Regions from separate parts of the Homo sapiens genome. Here region 1 is linked to region 2. Evidence: promoter capture Hi-C in 16 types of primary human blood cells and fetal thymus (Javierre and others, 2016). All regions are on one chromosome and are shown on one strand. The core of a region is centred on a gene start or on the middle of the fragment in contact, and the rest is flanking DNA. Distances in the headings are between cores, read along the strand shown. Region 1 holds the start of GALNT5 (polypeptide N-acetylgalactosaminyltransferase 5). Region 2 holds the start of BAZ2B (bromodomain adjacent to zinc finger domain 2B).

Region 1 (7,547 bases), core at 968-3,467, 2.4 Mb after region 2:
AGGATCCCTGGTGGTAGACCCCTGAGTGGAGCGTAGCATCCGCCAGGCAGCTTGAGACACACCTATATTTAGCCAAGGTGGGTTATGTGATAAGAGGGAGGAGGCCTGGCCACATGCTCTCTGACTCATCCTCTCAAGCACATGTGTCAATTTTTCCTACAGTTGGGACAACCTCCTTCAGAAGACAGAGCCTGACTGTAACTTTCCTGGGCTGCAATGCTTAACTTCTACAGAACAAAGTATAGAAACTAAGAAGCACTGGGAGTCCCCGAGCTTTCAATGAGCCACACTAGTGATAACATCGTTATTACTTGCTTTGAGCACCCCCACCCCCGCCACGCATGTGCCTTTTCTCTGGTTTGGAACTGGAGCTTGTGCTTCTGTGCAGTGTCTAATTCCTCCCCAGACTCCCTAGCAGCCTGCCAGGTCAATAAGGGCATGTTAAAATGAAACTGCTTTAACGGCTACTTCATTTCCTTGCACTTTGTGTTCAAAGCTGGCATGTGTAATCCTGTGATACACAGGACTTTAGATTAGAGCTGGGCCAACACAATTTTTAGGATCCTTTTTGAGGGGAGATTGGCAAGAGATGGAAGAGAGTGCAGAATAATTTTGAGCATGAATTTTAATCATTTCTCTACAATGACTAGCTTTGTGACCACAGGCAATCTAGCATCCCAGGGCCTCAGTTTCCTCATCTTTGAGTATGTCTGCATTCTCCTCAAGACTGTGATTATCACCAGGGTGAGAAGCGTGAATGGCACAGTGCTTGGTATAAGCAGTGCATGGCTGATAGCTGTTTGCTGATGGCTAAGAGATGGAAAACGACCTGGTTGTAGCCGACATCACAATGAAGAGACTCTTCTTTCTAATGTGGATAAAGCTTCTCCTGTATCTGCCTTCCTCCTAGTAACACTGACTAAAATGTAATGCTGACTACCTAGATCACAAAGAAGAATTTTCTACAGAAGCCAAACAAGGCCATTGTTTACATGCCACATGTGCTAAGTCTCAATCTTGACATTCCCCAATCCAACTTCCTGGCAAATATTGTTTGACTTAGGGAACTGAGTTAACAGATATTGAACATACGGCTGTTGAGTACCTTCACTTATCAGTGGGCCAAGAAAAAAAATGCCAGGAACCCAATTATATTTGAATCAGATTAAATATCTATGTTTTGATCCACATCTGGTGATATAGTTATAGGAATTTAACTTTTTGAAGGACTGGTTACTGAAGGCCCATTGGGCAGCTTTAGAACTGCATTACCTTGAGAAAGTGTTGTAACTTCTGAGCGCCCTCGCCAGCTTGTTAATTTGAACCATAATGACTGCCTCCTCCTTTGCAGGGCTCATATGGAGTTCATCTATGTGTATGCAGGCTCTTTGTAAATAGTGAATGTCTACAAATATAAGTGATTATTATTATGCTTTTTATACCTCCTGTAGGTGTTTGCTGGTCATGGACTGATTGACTTTTTCCAACATTATGATTCCTATGTAACTGATCTCCTGAAATATCTACCATCTCCACCTATAAAGGAGATTAAATTTTAGGGAGTAAAGTCACTTCTCTTGCTATCCTGCTTATCATTACTTATGATTAGGCAGAATTCTGCTGGTTAAGATATGATTCCAGGGAGGCCTAGAAGAGTCCTTCTGTGTGCTTCTTTCCCAAATATATTCCTGACAAACTTGCTAATAATGAAAAGTTCCAAAATTGGGAATTCACTTCATTGTCACTATTCTAATGGAATTACACTTTAAGCTCTACCATTTATATACACGTTATTATGAACTGAGTTCATCTAATCATTTTAATAGGTTTTCAACAGAGGGAAGAAAATTGAACATGAGCTAATGGTAGGGACCAAAGTCTCAGAGAACAAGAACTCTGCAACTGCTAATAAGAGAATTTTTGTCTCTGTAGCTGGTGAAATATTTGAATGATATCCAATGATTAATGTTTCTTTAATTCTCTAGGTGACCAAAAATCACACAGAATTATCTAGCAATAAATCCTCTTTACATAACAGCCAAAGCACTTGGGGTTGAGGAAAGAGAAGAGAAATAGGTCTTACCCAGCAGGTCTGGTGTCTTCAATGGCTCTATCCACTGGGATCAAATCGCTAAGGTAGACATTGAAGTTTCCTTCTTTCCATCTTCTTTCTGCCTCCTTCTCCTTTCCATGGGGGACAACTACAGGACGCCCAAACTGCCCTGGAGCTTTGGGGTCCCTTGGAGAAAGTGTCACATCAATTCTTAACACCTGGTGCGTTCCACTGTCTTCAGGTAAAAGGGCTTTTATATGACTCTGGTTGTATTCTGTAGAGGGGGCTTTGGCAGTTATGTTGATTTTTGCTGGCTCTAGCCCTCCAGTTAAAGCATGGTTAGTTTGGGACAGTGGCACTCTATGTGGAGCAAGTGAAGAGGAAGACATCTCACTTCTATTCCTGGAAATGTGTTTACTTTGGCTTTTACCCAATACTTTAGGAAATATTGTTTTGGTTTTAGAATTAGAGACCTCTTTGGGGTCTGCCTTTTGCTCTTCCTCTTTGGTTATAATCACAAGATGGCTTTCAGAGAAATTGAGTTTCTTCCCATGAGCCCCTCTAGCTCCATCATCCTTTGACAAACTTCCCAAAGGTGTCTCATTAATAGATTGCTTCCTTAAGCGATTTGAATTGACAGTGAACTTAGGAAAAGGAAGACTCGTATTGGCTTTGTGTTTATTTGCATTGACTTCTTTGCTCTGAGTCTTAGTTTTGTTTAAGGCCATGGCTTCCCCAGACTTCGGCACTGCTGTGCTGGCAGGGTGTGCCCTCTCGTTTGCTACTGCCTGTGATCGCTGCTTTGGTCTATCAGTACTAAGACTGATGGTCACATTCAAGTCCCTTTCAGCTGCTAGTTTTGATGTGTCACTGCTGGGACTATGACTCTTCCGGGGCTCCTGTTTTAAACTGACACGTCCCATGTGTACTGATATTTTGACTACCTGAGTTCCTTTTGCTGCTATGAATGAGGTCTTTGGAGCCCCCTGAGCTGTCGTTTGCTTTGGTGTCCCCTGGTGAGAGGAGGCTTCAGGTTTGGTGCCTCTCCCGTCTGTCTTCTGCTTGTTAGGAGTCACAGGGAGGGTCTGCAGATGTGCAGGATGCCACAACGGCACAACCTTGCCCCTTCCCAGGGCATTCTGCATTTTTCTTTCCCTCTGGGTTTGGTCCAAGTCCACCTCAACCTTGAGCACACTCTCCTCAGTTTTTCTAACATTCTCTTTGCCCCATGCCCCTTTCCCATGTCCCCTTAGGGGAGGTTTCATCTCTTTTATGCTGCTGTAAAAAATTTTTCCTTGGTCTGGCTGAACTCTGAATCCTATCCGCTCCCTCCTCACAATGTCTTCCTTGATGACCCGAGTGTTGATCTCACTGAATGAGAGGCGGAGAGCTGCCATGTCAAAGAGGAGCCAGATGACAGAAGCTACAAAGATAAATGCCAAGACTCGCCCACTTCCTCGGAAAAACTTTCGGATCCTGTTCATGGTACAAAGCTTTCCCTAGCAGCCTGCCCTCCCTTAGCCTGCTTACCTTGAGTGGAGAGGAAGCTGAAGTAGCAGCAGCAGCAGCAGCAGCAGCAGAGTTGCCAGAAAGTGACCCCCTCCCCTGAACACAGCAGGAAGCAGCAGTCCAAGGGGAAAGCTCAGTTCCTACCGCTTGTCAGTCTCTGCCTGCGTGGCATTTCATAGCAGAGCATCTGTGCCTGCTTGGCTGGCCCTGGCTAAGTTCTGATAAACACTGGCCTTAGGTCACTCCAGGAGCAGTTGATTCCAGCCACCGAACAGTTCAACATATCACTTGTCTTGTCTCCGGGAGCCCATGTCCACCTTCCTACAAGCCCAAGAAAAGGTGGGGGCCAGATTGAGACTGCCGTTTCTCTCCTCCCCGTTCTCCGTCTGCACGCTGTAACTCAACACCACTTCTCATAAGGAAAACATTTCATGCCATTACCCAGAAAACTTCATTCAGCTCTCACCTTCTGTGTTATGTGAGAGCATGTGTGTTTAAACGGCAATTAAAGAGGAAAAAAAGCTATCTAACTTGGAGGGCATGTGTTCCTGGTTTGTGACCCCACCTACCCTACTCCTGCTCATTAACCCTGTTGTAGCCAGGTGCCAATGCTCTGCCTGAGGAATTTATCACTGAAGTTAACATTTCAGCTTTAAGACATAACAGCTTAAAGAAGGGGCCTGGTATATCCTCACTTCCAGAGATGTATATGTTTAATTATTTAGATCATTCATTCAAGGGGTTTCAATGTATTTCTTTGTAAGCCAACTATTTTTTTTTCACTAATCCATCTGTTTTTATTATTACATTTGATTACAAATAAACTTAATTTGTCATACTGCTATAAAAGTTTCTAAACACTTTGTTATGGTCTGAATGTTTATGTCCACCCAAAATTCATATGTTGAAACCTAATCATAAATGTGATAGTATTAGGAGGTAGGGCTTTTGAAGGTGATTTCATTATAAGGATAGAGCCCTCATGAATGGGATCAGCACCCTTAAAAAAGAGGCCCTATTGCCTTGCCATTCCACAAAGTGAAGACATAATGAGAAGGTGCCATCTATGAACCAGGAAATGGGCCTTCACCAGTCAACGAATCTGCTGGTGCCTTGATTTCTGACTTCTCAGTCTCTAGAACTGTGAGAAATAAGTTTCTGTTGTTTATGAGTCACTTAGTCTATGTTATTCTTCTATAGTAGCCTGAACAGATTAAGATACACTTACTCTCAGTTTCAGTACTTATCTCGTCTTAAACCAGCAAGCAACAGTTTCAGGACCACACCAGGACTTGGACCAGATTTTGAGTGATGCTGGTTGACTGGTAGGGTAGCAGTTCCGCCACAGGCTTTTCATTAGAACCACTTGAAACAAGATCCCCAAAACTCTGGTCAATTGATGAGAGAGGAGGTGGAGATGACATTTGGGCTGATATTGTATTAAATATATATATATATATATATATATATATATATATATATATATATTTTTTTTTTTTTTTTTTTTTTTACAAAGCTTCCCAGGTCTTTCAAATGTGCAGCTAAAGTTGAGAAACACTGGTCTAGAAAAAAAGTCTCAATTTTTTGTTTGTTTGTTTTTGGTTTTTGAACATTGCCTATGAGACATTTAATTTTAGGTGTCTACTTGACTGGGCTAAGGAACACCCAGAGAACCAGTAAAGCATTATTTTTAGGTATATCTGTGAGGGTGTTTCCAGAAGAGATTGGCATTTGACTCAGTGCACTGAGTGGGGAGGAGATGCCCTCACCCAATGTGGGCAGGCACCACTAATTGGTTGAGGGCCCAGATAGAAAAAAAGGCAGAGGAAAGGTGGATTCTGTCTCTGTTAGTGAGCTGGGACATCTTTCTTCTTCTGCCTTTGGACTAGAACTTTAGATTCTCTGGCTTTGGCCTCTGGGGCTTGTACCAGTCTGCCCCCACAACCTCCACATCCCTCACTAGGTTCTCAGGCTTTTGACCTCAGACTGAGAGTGATGTTATTGGCTTCCCTGGTTCTCAGGCCTTTGGACTCAGAATGTGCCATGTTACTGGCTTTCCTGGTTCTCCAGCTTGCAGGTGGCCTGGACTGAGGTTTCTCAGTCTCCATAACCACATGAGCCAATTCCTGTAATAAACTGCAACTCACTTATCTACCTCTATGAATCCTATTGGTTCTGTTTCTCTGAAAAATCCTGGCCAATACAGTCTACAACTTGTGTGACATTCCTTCCCTGTCTAAAGTACAGTCTAATAAAATCTATGCATTCCCATAACAACTAAATCAGAATACACATTTTGACATTGCCAGTTGTAAAGATTGTCCATAGAGTTTGAGAAGCACTTCTCGGGACCACTGTCCTTCTCTCTGAGGAACTCTGAGTGATTTGTGGACAACACTGCTGTTCATTACTCTAGTGTGGGGAGGGTCTAGCTTCCATGCTTTGAGGTAAACTTATGTTCCCAATGACTTGGGAGGGGAAGGAGAGATTCCAAATTCATATATATATCTCAAGCACTTTGCTAAGTTCTTTCCATTGACTATCTCACTCAATCCTCACAAGAATCTAATGTGAAGGAGTAAATTACAATATGTATTTTGTAGTCAGCAAATGAAACCTTAGAGAGGTAAAGCAACTTCTGGTAGAGATTGGAGGGGTTGGGTCTTGAATACACGACTGTAGTCCGTGTGCTTCAATATCACACAATACTGCTCTCTAGCTGTATGATCTTGCAGGCTAGTTAATTTTATGTGGTTACTGAGCAATAAAAAAAAATTCTGCTTTGCAGATTAATGTGAGAATATTTAAAAATGGTTAAAGTTATTGTTATATTGAAGGTACTCTTTAAATGTTAGCCATTCATATTGTTGCTAATACTTTGCTGTAATAGGAGTGTCGGATGCATGTGGGAGGCAATGTACCAGCTCTTCCCAAAAAAACAAGTAGAAAACTAGTGACTAACATGATTCTGGCAATGGGGAAGAAACAAATCTGAGTATTTTATTTTATTCTTGCCATTCTTATTTCCTCTAATTATAGATTTAACAAGACCATTGTTCACTGAGAACTCCCTACATGCCCAAAACATGAAGTAGGTGACATTGTCTCTGCCCCTAACAACCTTAAAACTCCCCTCAGTAGAACGCCACCAGTATAATAATAATAATAATAAAAAAAGAACGCCACCAGCAAAAAACATAGCACACATCTTTAGCATCCACATTCGAAAATAAAGTGAGAATTTTTTTTAGCATCATGGATAAATGGTTTGCATTACAATATTGTTTTAAACATGAAAATAGAATACTTTAAAATTATTTTACTCTGCATGATTCAATCTTGTCCAGCCACCATCCCACCCCAAATGGCAGTTGGAATTACTCAAATGTCTTTTAGGAAAGTCAACACTTGTTATATTCTATGCTTGGCAGTTTAAAACACTGCTTGAAATATATTCTTGTTTCCATATAAATTTTATCAAAGAGTACTGATTTCTTTTTATCCCTCTCTGGTTTGTCCTTGCGAATCAAAACACAAATTACTTGCAACAGGAGAGCAACATGTTAAGAAAATTAAAAGGGAATCTTGGCTTATCTATCATGGGTAAAGCAACACATTAACTCTGGCTTAGTCTTCGGTCTATTTGACATACAATTCAGAATGAAATGTGAAGAGTGGGTAGGAGAGTAAGGAAACATTGATTAAATATCCTAGAAATGGAGGAGTAGATTTGTTGTCAGACCTGGTCTAAAGTACTGACTTGGCCACTAATAGCCATATGACTATGGATGTGTCACACATGGAAAAGCTTGTGTAAGGTTCTCTTCCCAGCCTCTTCTTGGTCTTTTCCCTTGTGAGTTTATGATAATCTGTGATGATGGTAGAAGTTGGTTATAAGCCATACCACTAATTCAACACTATGTGTCTTCAGGCACTCAGTAATAATTTCTGTGGCCCTCATAGCTGTACATCTTTCTCCTTTTTT
Region 2 (6,954 bases), core at 3,122-5,621:
TTTGCACTGCCTATACAGTTACTGTTCCCTCAAAACAAGGTCAATCATGCCACTCCTTTGCTAGCCTTTGTTGGCTCTTGTGATAAATTCAACCACCTTACCATGGTACTTAGGCCTTTTACTGTCAGGTCCCAGCCTTCATCTTGGTCATGACATCCCTATCATTCCTTTATCTCTGTCCTTCCCCATACTGAATATTCCCGCATACAGAATTTCTCACTAGTGGATGGACACCAGATCTAGTATCTCTGCATATTTACACTTGTTGTTTCTTTCACTTAGAAGACCACCTCCCACCCCGAACTTCTTTGCCTGGTAAGCTCTCAGTATTTGAGATGCAGTTCAAATAACATCTCTTTGATAAAGCCTTTTCTAGTCTCTCAGTGAGAATTAGTTGCCTCATCCTCTTTATTCTCACAAAACTTTATTATTTGTATCTTTATAATGTGATTTATATGAGTCTCTAATCTCCCAGGCATTTCACACTTTGTACATCAACCAGAATGTGAGCTTTTCATGTTTTTCCAGCCTCTAGCATAGCGCGTAGCATATAGCAAGCACTCAAATGTTTGTTCAATGAATGAAAACAAATAAAGCTTCATTAGGCTGTAATGATTGAAACAGAAACAAGATATAACAGTGGCCAGCTTGTTATACTGTTGAGATCTCTCGTTTGTTTTTCTTTGTAGTCAGCCTTCCTAGACTTCATTCTCTGTACATAGCAATTTCTTACTCTTTGAGGAACCATCTACAATACCCATAGTAGTAAGTTAGATAGCCATCCAACTCTATATCTACCTATTTAAGAAGTTCTGTCTTTGTCGTAAAAACAGATGCTGCTTTACAGAAGAAAGTGCAACAATTTAGTCCATATTGGTGGCATAGTCTGTGGGATAGGTAAATAGGTATAGAATTTCAGAGTTAATTATTCACTAAAATTGGAAAAGATCTGCTTGATCATTAAATTCTATCACAATTATGTACATGATGAAGCACTAATACAGATGATGATCTTGGGTAGAAGACGAAGTCCTGTTGGGAGTTAAATTATTTTATAACTATAGCAACTATTTTATCTGAAGTTTTCCCCCTCAACTGTATGATTATGTTATAATCTCTGAAATGATAAAGTATGATAACATGAAAAAGGGAAGGAATCATATTTTAAAAATAATTTAAGCACAATTTCTTAGTAAGAAGGTATCAAATACTTGGAGTAATCCAGTTTAAAATTTCTAGGAAATCATTTTTTTTTAAGAAGAATCAGTTTAAAAATACAGATTAAATTGAATAATTTTAATTTGTATATCTGAATTACCAAATAACATTAAATAATTTTAAATATATATTTTAATATAAAATTAAAGTTTTTATTATTTTTATTGAAATAGAGAAATATATTTATGAATTTGAGATACCTATGTCAGTCTTTCATTTAGCAACTATTTTGTTAATTATTGATTTCCATATAACTTCACCATTGGGAATGTCACATATTTCCTGAAGTATATAACGAGCCCTTCATAATAAAAATATATTTTAAAATGTCTTTAGAAGACATTAAAATCAAGGTTTTCACTGTCACCCCTTTTCCCCTTTTTTCCAACCTTTTGATGATGATAAGATGTATTTTGTTATAAGTTACTTCCTTGTGCAATCAAGTAAAAGACAACTTTGGGTTGTATATGGCTCCAGCTTGAAATTGCATATACATATTCTTATAAAAATTTTTGAATTATGATTCTAAAATTACTCAGGGGAATGACTGGAGTTTTTATATAGTAGTTAATCACTTTCATTACATATATTGTTTTTTCTGTAGATTAGACATATTTCCACAATTTAAATTAATGAATTTTATTACTTTAAATTATTTTTTTTCACAGGTTTCTTTTCTAAAATCCAGGCAATGTAAATTACATATCATTATGAAACCATTGTTTGGGAAACCAGTGTGGCATCTGCAATCCCAATATTTCAAAATATTATTGGAACCAAAAATTGAACCATGCTTTGCAGTATATTGTTTGAAGTATTTAAGCAAAGGATGTATTCTTAATTATTCGAGTTACAGTGTGCCACTTAACTTTATTTCAAGCGAGGTATATTTTGGGAGAATTCTTTATGAAAATCAAGATAACTTGAATCTAGCACTTTTTCCTTATCTTTTCAAAATTAAATATTTTCAACAGTAATGCTAATGATTAGGTAAAGTGTCAGTAATAGATTGTTAAAACATTAATATTCAATACTTTACGCATAGAAATATCAGTGTATTCCATTTTTTAGTTCCACATACTTAAAAATATTATTTATTTAATGACCACCATTATAGAACAATGCATTAACTTTTTTGTATGTGACTTGGGATAGAAGTCTTAGATACTAAGTGCATTCATACTTATATTTTAATCTATATTTTTCTTCTGGAACATTATTAGTAAATTTTGAGATTATAGAACTGTTGACCCAGTCATACATGTACAGAGCTTGGCCTCCGAGTTAATTAAATATGAGTTAATAATATATTATAAGGAAATTATTGTCCTTATTACAGTTATTAGGTAGTTACTCAAATTATAGCTTGAAAGGAATGCAGAGCATGGAAAACTCAGGATTAAATTATGCATTTGAACCTTAGGCCAGTTTTTACTGTAGAGACAGTTTGCTGCTAAAAGAGAAATTGTATGTCATTGAAATTAAATGCTTTTCTGGGGATGGAAGATTCCAGTTTTTAATGAAATTACTGAGTGTGGTGTAGTGAAATGATTAAAATCTGTATTCCGGGAATGTGGCAGGGAAAAAAAATCAATAAGTGCTAGCACAGCTTTGCTGCTCAATGTGAATCCTGAGAATGAAATAAACTACTACAAAAATAATAATTAAAAACATATCAGCACATTAATTTATTTAGCATCAGTCTCCTGAGACATCATCTTCACTAATTTTTAGCATACATTTTACTCTGTAATGAGCAGCCTTCTTTTCAGATATCCCTATTAGACAGGCAGTATTTCTGCCCTTCCCCCAGTGCTCCTGCATTGCAATCATTGTACTTGCACTTATTATGTTACAAATGACCGAGGTAAGGCTGACATTCTCAGTGCATGCAAAAAGACCGAGTCTGCCAAGCTTTTTTTTTTTCCTAATGAAGCAGCTTTGTGAAATCTCCCCATGTGTTAATACTAATGAAGATCCTCCAGCACAATTAAAATCACAGCCAGTGGCTGAAGAGGAAACATAAAACAATAGCATCTTTTAAGATACATTTATCCACATATGTATAAAATATACATAGATGATCAAATTATTCTCCGATAGCTTAATTTTTACTTACTCTTCATCCTGAAAATTAAATTATGCAATTTTTAATTATATGAACTTTGAGACTTTCTTGTGTTCTGGAGGGAAAAAACGGTACCTCAACGAACTTCTAAAAAAAAAAATACGTATCTTCTTGGCTAATAAAGTGTTATCAAGATTAAGGCTTTTAAAAAAATTGTTTTTAGGAATCTATAGGATGGGGTGCGGGAGGGAATGGGGCCTATTGTATCTTTAGTTTAACTTGATTGGTTGCAGGATTTGGGAATTGGGGTTGGGGGAGTGGAAGGGTAAAAACAAAGTTGGAAGAGATTCTGGGGGTAGACCATAGCATATGACTGCATTTGTAGTTTAAAGGAGCAAAGGGCTACCAGTCTTACTCATAACTTGATTTTTAAAAAGTGTTCAGTGCCTACAATTTGCTATGCTTTTTTTCTAATCTCTCAGAAACTTGAAAAAAAGCTATCGAGATTACCTTTTACAGTGTGTGCATATAACTTTAAAACGACTATTTTAACGTCTTTTATTTAAATTTTATTTTAACTTAGTGCATAAACATTACAGCCAGTTTAACTTGTCCGTGGAAAGGCAGTAGAATTTTACCCCGGGACCGTCTTGCATACTGCTTTTTTTGAGTTTTAACATCCGCAAAATCTTGGCATATTAATTTAGTTGGGTTGTAGAATTCTGAGTTTAGGAACAAAAAAAATTTAGGTGGAGATGGTTGACCTATGCTCCCTACTCTGTAGCTTTTGTTTTTTTAAAAACTAAGTTTTAAATCCCGTTTTCTGTCCTGTCTTCTTTAAAAGCAAAACAAAACATTTTAAGTTTCTTAACTTTTTCCTGGGACAAGGAACGGTGCAAACTCAAAGCTACAGTATTCTTGGAAAGAAGAAGCAACCCCCTCCCTTGGCTCCTTTAGGAGCTGATAGGTCATTTATTATTGGAACTGAAATGGTATAAACAATTCTCTCTCTTTTTTTCCCTTGTTAACAGCAACTTTCATTGTTAGAGAGAGGAGAGAGAGAGAAGCCTTGTTGGTTGACGTCACTTGGTTCATGAAGCCTTCGCCTAGAAGTGAAGCTGCTGAACAAACCTTGAGAAGAATCATCTCCTGCTTCAATCTGCTGCTGGATAGGAACTAATCAGAGAGAGAGAGGCGGAAGACGGAGAAGGAGGGAGTCGAAGGCTTTCCCGATCACAAATCTCACCTCCACTACAACTCTCTTTATACTTTTCTTGCAGAAATAATAATAGAAATAAGGAGGTGGTGGGGTTTCCAAAAATCTTAACCTTCAACCATCTGGGGAAAAGGCAAAAATCCCATCTACCGCAACTCTCAGTTCGAGAGTAAAGGTGAGTTTAAAATCCTCGGGCGTGAGGGGTGCGGGTGAGGATGTAAATTCCCAGTGTTACAAAGCCGGTGGAAACAGCAGCGGAGAAACTGCGCTCGGGCAAGCGGGGGACTCCGGAGTTGCTGCGTGGAGGCGCTCGCCCCGCCGCCCTCTCGCCCTCCGCCGCTGTTTATCCTCGCCGGTCGGTGCGGCTCTTTGTTGTGGTGGCCGGAAGGCTGGGGTGGTTCTCGGGGTCCCGAGTGGAGTTTGGGGGAGGAGGACACGGAGATGTGCCGTCCTGGGTGGGAGGTGGGGGGTGCGGCCTCAGGAGAACGTAAACTTTATTCCTAGAAGCCGGTGCGGGACTTCGCTGGAGTAGGGCCGTGGGTTGTGCTCCCGGCCGGGCAGGCGCTGCCGCCGCGAGTCCGCCGCCTTTGTGCCGGCCGCCCTGGCTTCGCGTCTCCTTCCTCTTCCCCTTCGGCTTCCAGCGCTCAGGTCGCCGCCAACAGTTTTGCTTCTTAAAAAACAACCTCTGTCAGCGTTGCGATGGCCGTTCCTACCCCGGAATATCCGCTGCTCCCCCACTCCCTGCCGGGGTAGTTTCTGGATCACCCCCCACCCCCGTCCGCCTCCTGCTGCCCTTTTTTGCCTCCGCCCCCTCTTCCCTGTCGGACTGACGAGCTGCGTCTGCCACCCCCACTCCCCGGCTTGGGCCTCTAGCTCTCCCGTGTGTAGCTGGAGGCTCTGAGTTTACTGAAGATGAGCGGGGGTGGGGGTGGGGCAGGTGGGATTGGGAAAAGATCTGGATACCTGGGAAGGTCTATGTCAGCACGCAGAAGGTTTGAGGAGCATTGCTTCTCATACAGTAAGGTCTGTGCCTTGGTCTCATGTTTTAGCAGTTCTTCCCCGGGAACGACCGCCAGCTCCCAACTCCTCTGCTTCCCTCTTTTAATCTTCTTGTCGCTACCCCTCCCCCCAGCCCCCGTTCTCTTTCGCGGCTCCCTCCCCTTTAAGTAGTTTCACGAACCCCAGAATTGGGATTTGAGAAGGGGAAGGAAGTGTTTGAAGAGTCAGAGCTGGCTCTGTTGTTTGGGAGATTTTCTCTTCTTTTCTTTCTCCCTCTGTATTTATCTTTTGTCTGTTGCTTCCTTATAAAGAGGGAAGCAGCTGCAGTCCTTGGCCGAGTTGTTGAAATTTATCCCTTTGTGTATATTACAATATCCTCCATTTTTTTTCCTGCCCTCTAAACAACAAGCGTTTCGCCATCTTGGGCAATTTTATTCCCAAGTCTCTCTCTTTTTTATTTTTGAGGAAAGGAAAGAAGTATTAGGAAGTGTGTCTGGATAAGTCTCAAAGTTTAGGGAATGTTCAGGGGGCCCAGTGACGTCATGTAAACTTTACGGAGAAATTTTCCCAAGAGTAAATTTTTTGCTTAATTTTTCTCCTGTTTTATAGGATTGTGTAACTTACAGGTTACTGATAAGTTGTGTGGCTTATTTTTGTGTTTTGCTCTCAAAATCAGTATACGAAGTCTGCGTATTGTATGTTTTGGTAACAGGTGGAAGATTATATGCAAAAAATGGTAAAAAACTTGTGCGTCATTTGTTATTTATCTGGTTTTTGTGTACTTTTTTTTTTAATTTAAAGGTTTCAACTGTTATCTGTAGTCAGTATATTCCCTTTCTTATTTGCTCCACTCTCCCTTATGGATTTTTTGAAAATTAGCTTGGTTAATATTTATGTATGGTTATTTTAGATTATCTGGCTCCCCGTTTCTAATAAAATGTTCTGGGGTTTTCTTTTTCTATTATTTATTTACATTTTGAAAAGAAATGACTATGGAAAATACCTTAAGATAATGGATACTTTAAAATTTAGTAGCAGATATTAAGTCAAACAATTATTGAGTATTTAAGAGGCAGAATTGATTTTAAAAGTTATTTTATAATCGCTAGCTATAAACTCTTTGTCAGCCATTATGAACAGATAAACAAAAACTAGCACTGTTTTAATTTGCTTGTCTAACATAGTTTTTCGCCTCACAAAAGTTGGTTTGGTCACATGACCAAGCTTAATGATACACTGACTAGTATATAAATAAGAGGCACTGTATATTGAATGGGAAAGTGGAATTCTGTCTCCTGTAGTCATTTTCAGTCAGCATATTTACATCTCTTCTAACAAGGACATGAAACTGTCTGTATTTAATTTGCATTCTCTTTGTCTTCTGGGTTGAGGGAAAAACACTGACTACAATTAACTTAAAAAAAGCTAATAGAAACAATTCTGAATACATTGA

Evidence for each region. The method cuts DNA at HindIII sites, captures the fragments that hold promoters and counts their contacts. A CHiCAGO score of 5 or more calls a contact.
Region 1: a contact is called between a fragment that was not itself captured here and the fragment with the promoter of BAZ2B in region 2, in 1 of 17 cell types (erythroblasts). The highest score is 5.4, in erythroblasts.

Annotation. Positions count from the first base shown.
Region 1 is chr2:157,254,073-157,261,619 of GRCh38, reverse strand. GALNT5 (polypeptide N-acetylgalactosaminyltransferase 5) reads right to left here and starts at 3,915. Exons shown (of 10, transcript NM_014568.3): 1 at 2,084-3,915. The coding sequence starts at 3,537. The HindIII fragment of the contact is 2,663 bases long and covers 886-3,548 here.
Region 2 is chr2:159,613,965-159,620,918 of GRCh38, reverse strand. BAZ2B (bromodomain adjacent to zinc finger domain 2B) reads left to right here and starts at 4,371. Exons shown (of 37, transcript NM_013450.4): 1 at 4,371-4,677. BAZ2B-AS1 (BAZ2B antisense RNA 1) reads right to left here and starts at 5,625. Exons shown (of 2, transcript NR_110588.1): 1 at 5,466-5,625; 2 at 2,877-5,169. RefSeq lists enhancers at 4,282-4,351, 4,602-4,681, 4,309-4,835, 5,892-6,420. The HindIII fragment of the contact is 3,593 bases long and covers 3,135-6,727 here.